Regions from separate parts of the Homo sapiens genome. Here regions 1 and 3 are each linked to region 2. Evidence: promoter capture Hi-C in human tissues and cell types (Jung and others, 2019). All regions are on one chromosome and are shown on one strand. Each heading gives the region's core, a stretch centred on a gene start or on the middle of the fragment in contact. The rest is flanking DNA. Distances are from core to core; before and after follow the strand shown. Region 1 overlaps MCTP1 (multiple C2 and transmembrane domain containing 1). Region 2 holds the start of MCTP1 (multiple C2 and transmembrane domain containing 1). Region 3 has its middle 32 kb from the start of MCTP1.

What was found. The method cuts DNA at HindIII sites, captures the fragments that hold promoters and counts their contacts. A contact is called where the count stands out against the background at its distance.
Region 1: a fragment that was not itself captured here is called in contact with the fragment with the promoter of MCTP1 in region 2 in 2 of the 25 tissues and cell types used here (adrenal gland and stomach).
Region 3: a contact is called between a fragment that was not itself captured here and the fragment with the promoter of MCTP1 in region 2, in 1 of the 25 tissues and cell types used here (psoas muscle).

The regions. Positions count from the first base shown.
Region 1 is chr5:95,235,260-95,239,430 of GRCh38, forward strand. All of the region lies in intron 1 of MCTP1 (multiple C2 and transmembrane domain containing 1), which reads right to left. LOC105379085 (a long non-coding RNA gene) reads left to right here. Exons shown (of 8, transcript XR_948575.3): 6 at 1,509-1,716. Among named protein-coding and RNA genes, the nearest start is that of MCTP1, 48 kb to the right of the region's middle. The HindIII fragment of the contact is 4,605 bases long and covers 406-4,171 here.
Region 2 is chr5:95,283,210-95,286,888 of GRCh38, forward strand. It overlaps MCTP1 (multiple C2 and transmembrane domain containing 1), which reads right to left and starts at 1,885. Exons shown (of 23, transcript NM_024717.7): 1 at 647-1,885. The coding sequence starts at 1,366. RefSeq lists silencers at 974-1,093, 1,174-1,233. The HindIII fragment of the contact is 12,418 bases long and covers 1-3,679 here.
Region 3 is chr5:95,315,480-95,319,552 of GRCh38, forward strand. No RefSeq gene overlaps it. Among named protein-coding and RNA genes, the nearest start is that of MCTP1, 32 kb to the left of the region's middle. The HindIII fragment of the contact is 5,677 bases long and covers 1-4,073 here.

The sequences.
Region 1 (4,171 bases), core at 1,458-3,957, 47 kb before region 2:
CAGCATTTATTCCTGATAAAAACTCTCACCAAACAAATAATAAAAAGAAACTCCCTCAATTTAATAAAAGACATTATAAAAACCAGCAGCTAACATCATAATGAAGAGAGACTAAATGCTTTTTTCCTAAGATTAGCAAAAGAAAAGGACGTGCATTCTTATCACTTCTATTCAATATTTTTCTGGAAGTTTAAGCCAGCACAGTAAGGAAAGAAAAAGAAATAAAAGGCCTCTAGATTAAAAAGGAAGAAGTAGAAACACTTTCTTTCTTTCTTTCCTTACTATGCTGGCTTAAACTTCCAGAAAAATGCACATCATGAATGTATACGCCTGAACTTAAAATAAAAGTTAGAAATTTTTTTTAAAAAGTGTATTGTGCAATAATAATGAAAATGTAACTGTATCACATTGTGATAATTATTCCATCTGCTCATTTAATAAATACCTATTGCTTATTCACCAAAAAAGGAAGAAGTAAAACTGTCTTTATTCACAGATGACATAATCATCTTTGTGGAAAATCTGATGATTCTACAAAAATGCTACTAGGTCAGTGCAGCTCATGCCTTGATGTCAACCTTGTAAGAGCTGGAGTAGAGAACCTAGTTGAGCCTCCCTGAGCTACTTCTGACTACAGTACTGTGAAATAATACATATCTATTGTTTATGTCACTAAGTTTAATAATTAATTATGGAGATACAGAAAACTAATAAACCTACTGAAGCAACATTTATGGAAAGTGGTGCCCAAGGATCTGTATGTTTAACAAGCTCCCAATTAATTCTAAACACAGTAAAGTTTAAGACTAACTCAACTGGAAGAACACGGTCACAAAAATGGAACAGATTGGGACTTCTGAACTTATAGATCTTTCAAAGCAGAGGAGGCCATGCCCATTTTTACAATTTTAATACAATTCTTAACTAATTCCTTGCTGATGATATTCTCTTAACAACATGATGAAGAAAATGCTTTAAGGTAATTTACTGCATCTTCCAAGCTCCAAGCAAGGATGAATTATGTCCTAGTCAAAATCTATTCATTCTGTTTTTAGAAGATAGGGAATATATATGCACAAGTTCAATAATGTGATCCATTGTACAATACCACTTTCTTGTCTGCACTTTCTTCCTAAACGCCATTCTAAATTCTCTTTAGTGTAATTTAACCCAGTTTTCTTTTCAGATCCTGGAAAAAATAGTTAATAGCTGGCCATCTTCCTTTATGTCTTCTCCCTTACTTCCCGTGAGGACTGTCTAGTAGCCATATGCTTATCCCCAGGAGGTCAATTGTGATTGGTCCAGATAGAGGTTATATATAGTCTTTGCTGATTACGGTATAAAAAGTCAATATGCAATTTAGTTCTGACCAAAAATACCTAAGATGAAGCCTGTTGGGTGATAATGGGAACATCCCACAAATAGTAGATATGGGCTGAGTTGTCTACTATTTGTCTCCCTCCGAAAAATCACAAAAACATTTATAAAAATGCACATAACACATCCAGGAACCCAGGATAATCAGAACTGCTGGAGTCATCCTGTGACCATAGAGGGAGATTTCACTGAATCCTGATGATGGCAGAAGAGAATTATGAAGAGTGCCTCCGTCCTTGAAGACTCTGTTGAGCAGCCAAACTGACCCTGGAACTGCCTATTTCAAAATTCCTCATGAAGTAAGCTTTAAAATGGCCTTCTTATTTAAGCCATTTTTAGGTGGGTATTCTGATATTTCCCTATAATTCTTGTAGTCTAAGCCATTTTCATATCAGTTCACATTCCCAGAAAGTTCCCAGGAATGCTTGGCTATGTGGCAGTAACCTCCAGTCCCTCTTTTCAGCCTATTCTTAAGCCAGAAATCCCCCACATCCTCTCTGGATTGGCAAGGTGAGACTCTGCCAGGCCATTTGCAGGGTTTCCAAACATAGCCATGGCATAGACAGTCTGGAGGATGTAGTGTGTGCTACTACTCAGCCCCTTAACCTTTTCCCAGAACCAGCAGGCACCATGTCTGAGCCTAGACTGAAGCTCCCCAGAAACATCCAGGAGAGTGGCTGTGAAATATTAGGTTGGTGCAAAAGTAACCATTAAAAGTAACGGTTTTTGCCATTAAAAATAACGGAGTAAGTAATAGACCACTAGGGACATGCGGTGGGTTGGAACTCTGGTAAGACGGACCTCAAACCAGTACATTAAGAACTGCTTCAGTTCCTCTAGGCACGACTGAGATAGGAAGCCCCATCCTAAAGCTCCTGGGTGGCTACTTGCTGCCTCCCTCAGGAACCTTTGCTAGAAGTTATGGCTGCTCTTTCACAGCAAGAAAACCAGAGTTGAAAGGGAGAGAAAGAGTCCATGTTATTTCCCTGGCAAATTGCAGTGGAACACAAGAGAGGAAAATAAATGCTCACTAACTCCTTTGATTCATTAATAAAACATGATGAGAAAATGTATAATTATAATTCTTGATATTTCTCTTCGAAAATTCATTTTCGTGATCCCAGCCTCTTTTTTTGCTTTATTCTGTGAAACATCTAGTGGGACTTGTAGAGATTGGAATGGGCAATTGGCAAGCTGCAAGTAGCCTAAGAAATAGCATTTACCTTGGGTAATTCACCATGATCCAGAGCCTTGTTTTTGACTCTGCTAAGACAGAGCCTGATTCCTTCAGCATGCCACACGAGATGCTGGGCCAATCTGCAAACCATAACTGACATATGGATCTGAATATTCACATTGATATGACCAGTACATTCTCTGCAGTAGCAAATCTATGAAAGGCCAACTCATAAACCAAATGTAGCAGAAGCAGCATGAAATCGGAACAAGGGAAATTTGTTAGTGATTCAAAATTTTAGAAGAAACAAACATCCATCGCCATGTGAGAAAGTCACAAGAATTGACGTTCCCATGCCGGTCTCCTTGGGCAGTTCTTAGGCCAGCCTCTCCACAGTTTCTTTCTCTGACTCTCCGCTACCTGCAAGGAGGTTTCAGTCTGAGCAGCCATCTGTCTTTGGATTGGTATATTATTATTAATCATTAAATACGTGAATCTTTCAGTTAGTTTATAGTTAACTCTTAATCATATACCAAATGTAATAGAATTGCGTTTTTGCTACATTCTGGGAGAGGCATTCTGATATTTCTATCTCTCTGCTTTATGTTGATTTTATACTTTTGCATGGGGGCTAACACTGTTTCCAACTTTTTTCATAACACCTCATTGTTACTCCTAAACATCACAAAAAATTACGCAGATGCCAAATCAATGTGTCACTCATATCAGAGTTCACTTGCTCAGTCCAGGATCCAGGACCAGCCTCAGAGAGGTTGGACCACAGGCACACATAGCTCATTCAGGAAAAGCAGAACTGCCGTCACAACCTTTATAACCGAACATGCAGCAGGAATCCTGGAACAATGCATGATCACTAGTCGCCTGATACCAAGCCTCATATTCTTCCAATTAGTCCTTAAAATTATTCTCATTCTCATACCAACTACATTAATCATACAATTCCTGGATGACTACAGACCCCTAAGCCCTCACTATTCCACCACCTTCCACACTGCCACCAGCATACATACACAAGCACACCGCGTATATGCAGCACATCTAACTCAGCACAAGCCTTGCTCGGTATAATCTCAATTCCCTTGTATTCTCTGGGGAGAGATGAATGGCATCCTTTTTGATTTCAGTATACATGTAGCTATGACAAATTTCCATCTTTCAGGGAATTTACAAAAGCTTTTTGGCTATCATGCATCTAACTGTACCACCCAAAACAGATTTTCTCAAAAAGGGGAGAAAAAACTTGGTCTCACATCTCACTGTTACACAAACGTAACATTTGGTCTCGTAGAAGAAACATTAAAAAGGCCATTGAGCCCTCCAGTGGCAAAATTCTGAAAATGTTATGATGCACATCTAAGCACCCTGGAGAAATCTCCTGAAGACGCGCAGAAACAGAATAGGCAGTCTTAAATCAGTTTAGGCTTTGGGGGTTTTCAAGTTCCTAAACTTTCTATGACCACAATTAGCCCAAATTATGACAGTGATCATTGTCCGAGCACTCAATTTTCTGGAAAAATCTCTTCCAGGTAATGCCTTAATGGAAAAGCCCTCTCAAATTTATTTCTGTGCTTTAAGGTTTATTTATTTTGACAGCTG
Region 2 (3,679 bases), core at 635-3,134:
TTTAAAAAGCAAGTGCTTCAGGTGACTATTAAAACTTCACAAGGCTCATAGGAACATATGCATTTGACTAACTGGGAGGAGACGCTCCCGCTGTCCACTTGAAGGGCGGTGATCCAATTGCAGCAGGAAGGTTTAAGAAAGGGGTGCCGGATGCAGGCCTGAGATGATGCTTTCCCTGGCACAGGACCTCACATGTGCCATAATTTACCTCTCCACGTTTCTATTTCTTCCCGCCAGCCATTTGCTTCCAATGGTACCTCTCCACACCACCACACGTGATCGTAATTGTTTTTAAGTTATTGGGTTAGTTTTTTCTTTTGCCAAGATGAGATTTGGCTGGACATCTCCTTTCAGGAGAACTCTAAAAAGTACCCACTTTAGGTCTAACTTTTCATTGACTACTCAGAAAGCTTCTGGTGACAGGTATCATTTCTACCAAAAGTAAAGTCCGGGTGCAAGTCAGAACTCTTTCATCTTTGCTAAACCAGAGCGAGATGTTTTCTTTCGACTGTTTCATCTACTTAGAATTAATAGCATTTCTCCTCCCGCCTCCCGGCCCCCGCCCCCCGCTCCCCGGGTGGTGAACGCCTGAAGAGGGAGGCGTGGTCCCGCGCACCTTGTCTCCGGCCGCGCCACCGGCACTCACCTGGCTGCTGCCGTGCTCCTCGCCCGTCTCCGGGGCCCGAGACTCCGCGGGACTCCGCGCCGGCTCTGCGGGAGGAGGCGGCGGCTCCAGCAGCTGCTCCAGGCAGGCGGTGCCCGGCAGAGAGGAGCTCTTCTGGTGGCACAAGTGCGCCCCGGGGCCCTGACGCCGTGCACCCTCATCTCGGGCGCGGTCCCCCCTCGGGGGAGGCTGGGGCGAGGAGGACAGGGAGGATGAGGCGGAGGAAGAGGAAGGAGCTGAGTCGGGGGAGCGTCCGCCAGGAGGCGTCCCTCCCGCTGCTCCCGAGGCCGCCGCGGGCCCCTTTACGGCGGGGAGCAAATGCTCGCGGATCCGGCGGCGTAGCGTGGACCCCTGCTCGGCTCTGCCGGCGCCGCCGGGCTCCAGGGGCTCCGGCGACGAGCAGCACAGGTTGGGCTGCGAGGAGGAGAAGACTCGGTCCAGCACTTGCTTCCGCTTCTTGAAGCCGCTCCACCTGCTGCCTGCACCACTCCCCCTGGCCGGTGCATTCCCTGTGCCCACCGGGGGTGGCGGGGAGGGCGACGGGGTGTCCGCAGTGCGGCGCTCTGGACCCCCAGCGCGCCCGCCCCCGCCGCCCTTGCTCCTGCCCACCCCCAGCTGCAGGTTCTTCCAGAGCCGGGCCTGGAAGGAGGAGGACGCCGCCGGCGGCTCTGGCTCGCCCGCCGCGGCAGCCCGGGGCTCCATCCTCCACCCCCTGCTCCTCCTCTCCCCTCCTCCTCCTCCTCCTCCTCCTGCTTCTCCTCCCTCTTCGGCTGCACCTCCTCCCGGGTCCCCGCGGCGCTGGCGGTGGCGGCGGCGGCGGCGGCGGGCGCAGCAGCAGAAACCGGGAGTGCCCAGCGACTTCAGGCCAGCTCGGGGGAAAGAAGCGGCCGCCGCCGCCGAGGCTCTCTGGCCTCGGGACTCCGGCGCTGCCTCTTCCTCCCGCACCTGCTGGGGTGGGCTGGAGCCGTAACCGAATCCCGGCCGCGGCGCCTGCAAAGTTTTTCCCTCGAAGCTCCGCGGCTCCAGTCCACTGGCGTCCCCCAGGCCGCGCCCTGGCTCCCTCTTCTCTCTGACCGAGCTCGGGAAGCTGCACGCACCGGGGCGTGCGCGTCCAGCTGCGCCAGGGACCGCACCCGGCGCCCTCTGGGCAGCACCTGTCAGCGGCGGGGGCGGCTGCCTCCAAATTGGGCGCGCACGCGGCTCACACAACAAGGCGCGTCTGGCTGGAGACTCCGGGGACCAGCAGTCCCCCTGGGGCGCCCCGGGACCATCCTCCAGCTCCTAGGTGGGAGGGCCGGTAGGAGCCGGGTGGAGCTAGGTAGGGCCCGAAGCCAGCTTGCTCCCTAGGATCCGGCCACAGTTGCCCAGGCAGCTCGCTGTGCGCTGGCCGCTGGCCGCGCTGGCGATCGTCTGGGTCGGATGAAGCGAGCTGGAGTGGAAACTATGTGCCCTCGATGGGTCTCGTGGGGGCGCCGATCGTCCACACTGAGCGATGAACCCGACGGAGTTCTAAAGCTGAAGACGTCTGCCCCCGCCCCGTTGCGCTCCCTGGGTCCAAGACGAGAGTTTAATTTCTTCTGTCTTGACTTCATCCCCATCCACCCCTCCCTTTTCTTTATTTGCCTCTGCACTGGTCTCTTATGATCAGGTTCTAGCATTTCCGGAGTCTGACGATAAAGCCAGCCCTTAAGTTGCAGGGAGTTTACGGTGGACGAAGATGGGTGATGCGCACTGCCTTTGATCCGATTCGGCACGCACAGAATCTTGTTCTTTTCATTCAAGCGCATTTTTTCTTTGGTTACTTCATTTGCTTGTTGCAAGGCAAACGGAAAAGGCTTTTTAGCTCATTCAGACTTTGCTTCTCCCAAAGCTGCTCAGCCAGGGTCTTCTGATTCTGCTAGGAGAGACTTCTGAAAGGCCAGCAACACAATGCCTCTTTCGTCCTCCTAAATGGGGAAAACGGGAGAGTTCCCTAAGCTGCGGTAGCACACTGATCAGTCTTGTCTAGCTAGCAGTATGCTTTGGAGGTGTTACCAACCTAAGTTTTTTGTTTTGTTTTGTTTTTGTTACCTTTATAACAAATATTTATTAAGCACCTACTATATACCAGGCACTGTGATAGGCTCTGGGGATGCAGCTGTGAACAGGGCATCAGGGTCCCACCCACATGGAGCTTATTGTGAGGGTGAGGGTTGGGAGGTGATGCGAGACAATAAACAGAATTTCTAATATGCAAAAGTCCCATGGAAACAGTTAAGCAGGGTACCACATAACAGAGTGGCTACAGAGGAAGAGCTTCCAGACAAAATGCAGGACACCCAATTAAACTGACTTTCAGAGAAACAATGAATAATATTAGTATATGTATGTCCCAAATATTGCATGGGACATACTTATACTAAAATACTATTATTTATCTGAAATTTAAATTTAACTGGGTGTCATGTTTTTGTTTGCTAAATCTGGCAGCCCCATATGGAGAGGTTTTTGGTTTTTTACATTATGTGTACAGGGAGAGTCTCTCTGAGAAGATAAAATTTTGAGTTAAGACTTAATGAGGACAGAGAACCAGCTATTGACGGATCTGACTGTAGAATTTCAGGTAGAAGGAACAGCAGATACAGAGGTCCTGAGGCAGGAAGCAGCTTGACTGGGCATATTCAAGGACAGAACGATACCACTCCAAATAGAGTAGAGCAAGGTGGGTGGGGTTGGTAAGAGATGTAGTGAAACAAAAGGTCAGCTAAGGGAGTGGGTCCTATAGCCAGAGTGAGAGTCCATGTTTCCTCTAAATGAAATTGGGAGACATTAGAGGTCTTTTTTAATCGTGAGGGTAATGTGATGTGATTTACTAATACTAATGCCAGGTATTAATAAATAGCCTCACAGGGCTATTTTGAAGATTAAGTGGAAAAAGGACTTAGCTCAGTGCCTGTATATAGTTGATATTATTGTTATTTGGTAGACCCAGTATTTCCCAAGTATATGAATACTATGCTTTGGAAAAAGAGCAAC
Region 3 (4,073 bases), core at 1,298-3,797, 33 kb after region 2:
GAAACATTGCTATATAAGAGATATTTATTTATTAAGAAAATGAAGATGTGACATTAATTCATAGTATCCAACCCATATTTGTTATCAACCCTACTCTTAGGGAAATTATTAGTTATTCACACAATACTCACATCAGTCAAGTCATTGCCATCTTCTTGGACCATCCCCTTTATACAGCACAGTGTCAGTTCATATTTGACTGAGATGTAGGGATTTTACTAAAAATATGATGGAACAAACTCAGTGGCAAAGTGGGCCTTTCTCACAGAAAAGAAATGTAATTTCAGCTAATAAACCTACTTTCAGATCATCTGAAAAGTTTGTGGCTATTAAGTTATGACTATTTCTTCAGTTTTTCTTGATACTCCACTGAAAATTCCTTTGACAACAGGAAGTTGTTCTAATAAAAACTGACACTGGAGTGGTGATAAAAGGTCAATAATGCTTATACGCTGAGAGGGAAAAGATAGGCCCCACTGTTGGGTACACTCTGCCTGGGATATCAACACAGAGCATCTGAGACTAGTGCAGTTGAACTAGTGCTATGCTGTCAGCACAGTGCAGAGCAGTGAGCAACCAAAAAGGAGCTGGGCTTTGTAGTCAGGCACATCTGGGCCCCAAATCTTTGCTGTCACTCAATAATATCAAAAAGCCCCAAGACTCTCACTGTATTAGTCCGTTCTCATGCTGCTATAAGACATGCCTGAGACTGGTTTTTCTTTTATTTTTATTTTTATTATTTTATTTATTTATTTATTGAGACAGAGTCTTGCTCTGTCACCCAAGCTGGAGTGCAGTGGTGCGAGCTCAGCTCACTGCAACCTCTGCCTCCCGGGTTCAAGCAATTCTCATGCCCCAGCCTTCCAGGTAGCTGGGTCTACAGATGCGCACCACCACACCCAGCTAATTTTTTGTATTTTTAGTAGAGACAGGGTTTCATCATGTTGCCCAGGCTGGTCTCGAACTCCTGAGCTCAGGCAACCTGCCTGCTTTGGCCTCCCAAAGTGCTAGGATTTTAGGTGTGAGCCACCACGCCTGGCCAGAGACTAGGTAATTTTTAAAGGAAAGAGGTTTAATTAACTCATGATTCCACAGGACTGGGGAGGCCTCAGGAAACTTACAATCGTGGCTAAAGGGGAAGCAAACATGCCCTTCTTCACATGGCAGCAGCAAGGAGAAGTACGGGGCAAAAGTGGGAAAAGCCCCTTATAAAACCATCAGATCTCCTGAGAACTCACTCACCAGAACAGGATGGGGGGACTCACCACCATGATTCAATTATCTCTATCTGGCACCTCCCATGACACATGGGGATTATGGGAACTACAATTCAATATCAGATTTGGGTGAGAACACAGCCAAACCATATCACTCACTTTCTGGGTTTATCCTTTCTTTCATAATCTAAATGAAATGACTCACGTGCTGAGAGAAGTCCAGCTCCTCCTCAATATTTCTGAGGATTCTAGGAGAAGGGACATACATTTTTCCATTTCTCCTTCCTCTAAATTCTTGCTCCCAGACTGACGCTCAATCACTACTCATATCTTCTCTGAAGTAACTGCTGTTCTTTCTCTTCTTCCCTTTACCCCAAACATGGGCCACAACCAAAGTGCTAACAACACAAGACTCTCAAATGTAACAAGGTTTGACTAAGTTTTGACTACAACTAAGAGTAATCCCACACAGTGCAGAAACCAGCTTTGAATTGAACACAGCTTCCACTGTCCCTAGAAATACACAGATAATTTGCAATCAAAGGAGGGTCTTTTTCTTCCTCAGGCTCTGACTTGCCACCAGGTGGCCAGCCTACTCTGCCTGTAAAAGACTCTCCATTCTATTCCTTCCTCAGTCTTCCAGAAATCCTGTCCTCTACTCAAGTCGCCAGCGGACAACCTAAATGTTTCTTTTACTTTATTATGCACAGCAATTTAGTTTCTCAGACTCCATCCTTCACTGGTAGTTGGTTCCTTTACACAACCAAAAATAGGATTTCCTCTCATGAAATTGATTTATATTGCTGTCTTGGAATGTTAATGCAGTGACTGTGGTCATCCTTTTGAGTAATATTTAATCTTTCCGATGACAATAGCCATGTGTATACAAGCCAATGGATTTATCTGAGCCTTGGTTTCCTCACCTACCTCACATGGTTGTTTTAAAGAGTAAATGTAAAAGCCCGCATGATGCTTGCTACATGGTAGCTGCTGATATTAACCACAAGAAATTTCTACTGGAAAGGGAATTAACACGAGCACCACTGAGTAGTATTAGCCAACAGCCACAGCCAGTTGCTGACATGCCAGACTGAAGCGGAGGGCACCACATTCTGGCACAGTCACTGCATTTCCTGATCTCCCTAGATGCCACATTTTCTGGCAAATACATAGTTAGAAATATTAGGCAAATCCTCACATTCCAGAGCTGAAAATATCCTCCCCCCACCCCAACAGTAAGGGATGGTGTTCCATCTCGCTTATGTTGTTTGCTTCTTTCTCTCAGGGAGGAGAACAGACCTGGACAGGAGCCCAGCTATGTGCCACACGCTTCTGTAATCCATTGCCTGCCATCATATATTTGCTCTGAGAATAAACTGCAGTCACAGTTTTACAAGGATTTTTACTTCCCAGTGAAACAAAGGTTGGTTACAGATCATCTGAAAATTATTTCAGCTGACAAATGAGTTAATGGTAATGAAAAATCTCCTAAGAGCCAACTTTAAAGCAAAAACTAGGAGGTCAACTTGAATCAAGTCCCATCAGCCTACTCCTTGTTCCCAAGTATCCTCTCATCAAAGCCACCCAAGGCTCTCTAGACAAAGGTTTCTTTTTCCTCCCGTCCCCTCCCTATTCTCTTCCCTCACCTCTCCTCTCATCTTTTTCTCTCTTCTTCTCTCTTTCTCCTTCTCCCTTGTTCTTTCTCTCTCTTTTCTCTCCTGTGTCCTTTTTGGATGTTCCAAGATCACTCCTAGTCTTACAGACCTTCCCCTGACCATGACCCAAGCACTCATCTAAAATTGGGGTGGTCTACATGTTTTGAGGTACATGTACTCTGCACCAACCAAGTGCCAGACCCTCTGCTATGTACTTTACATGCATAATCTGAATTATTCTGCCAACAAAACAATGAGATGGATATTATACCCATTTTAAAGACAGAAAACTGATGCTCAGAGAAAGGAAGGCACTTGAGTGTGGCTACAATCAGTAAATGAATAGACAGGATTCAATTTCAGGTCTGTCCTATATCAAGTCTGTTTGTTTTTCAGCACAAAATACTTTCTTTCTGTGTGAGGCTCTCAGCTCAAGGAAGATTTCCACTGAGACTCAAAGAATTCTGGAGTTGGAAGGAGCCCTAGAGGTCCTCCTGCTTAACCATGTCTTCAGTGTGGAACTTCTCACAGTCTGAAATATTTCAAATTGCATACATTTCTACCAAACTGAAGACAGTGTGGCATTCCTGTTGAAGCAGTAACGGTTCACTATGTTAACTAATTTGATAATGGCGCAACAGCTATCTGGTAATACATGGGCAATTAATATCTATGTTCCTTGAGAAGCTTCATGACACTGATTGTGGAGCCCAATCCTACCGTGAACAGTGGCAATTCAGATATTCATCCTTTGCCACCAATCTATTAATCTATTAATCAGTGGTAAAGAATGAAAAACTCTTTGTAATCTGTGCAAACCCAAAGAGAATTGCATCCTTGGCATATTTTCACCTTTTAGGATCTGGTTACCAATTAGAAAAATTACTTGGCATATCAACTCCTATACAGCAGTTAGTCTCTATAAAAATGGATTTTCTTTCCAGACAATTTAAAAGGACAAATGTAACTGAAAGAGAAAAATATGCATTCCTCCCACCATTAGGAATAGTGTTCTGCATAAAATTTGCAATAATTTCAGCTTTAGCCATTTATTAGGAAATATGATATTATTCCTGGAGCCAATACAAACAATCATTTGGAACAGAGATGCCAGGAAAAACATTGTACAGTTTATGGTTTGGCCCTCTTTCATTTGTCTTCTGGTGGTTATTGCTTTTTCAACACCAGTTCTGACAACAGG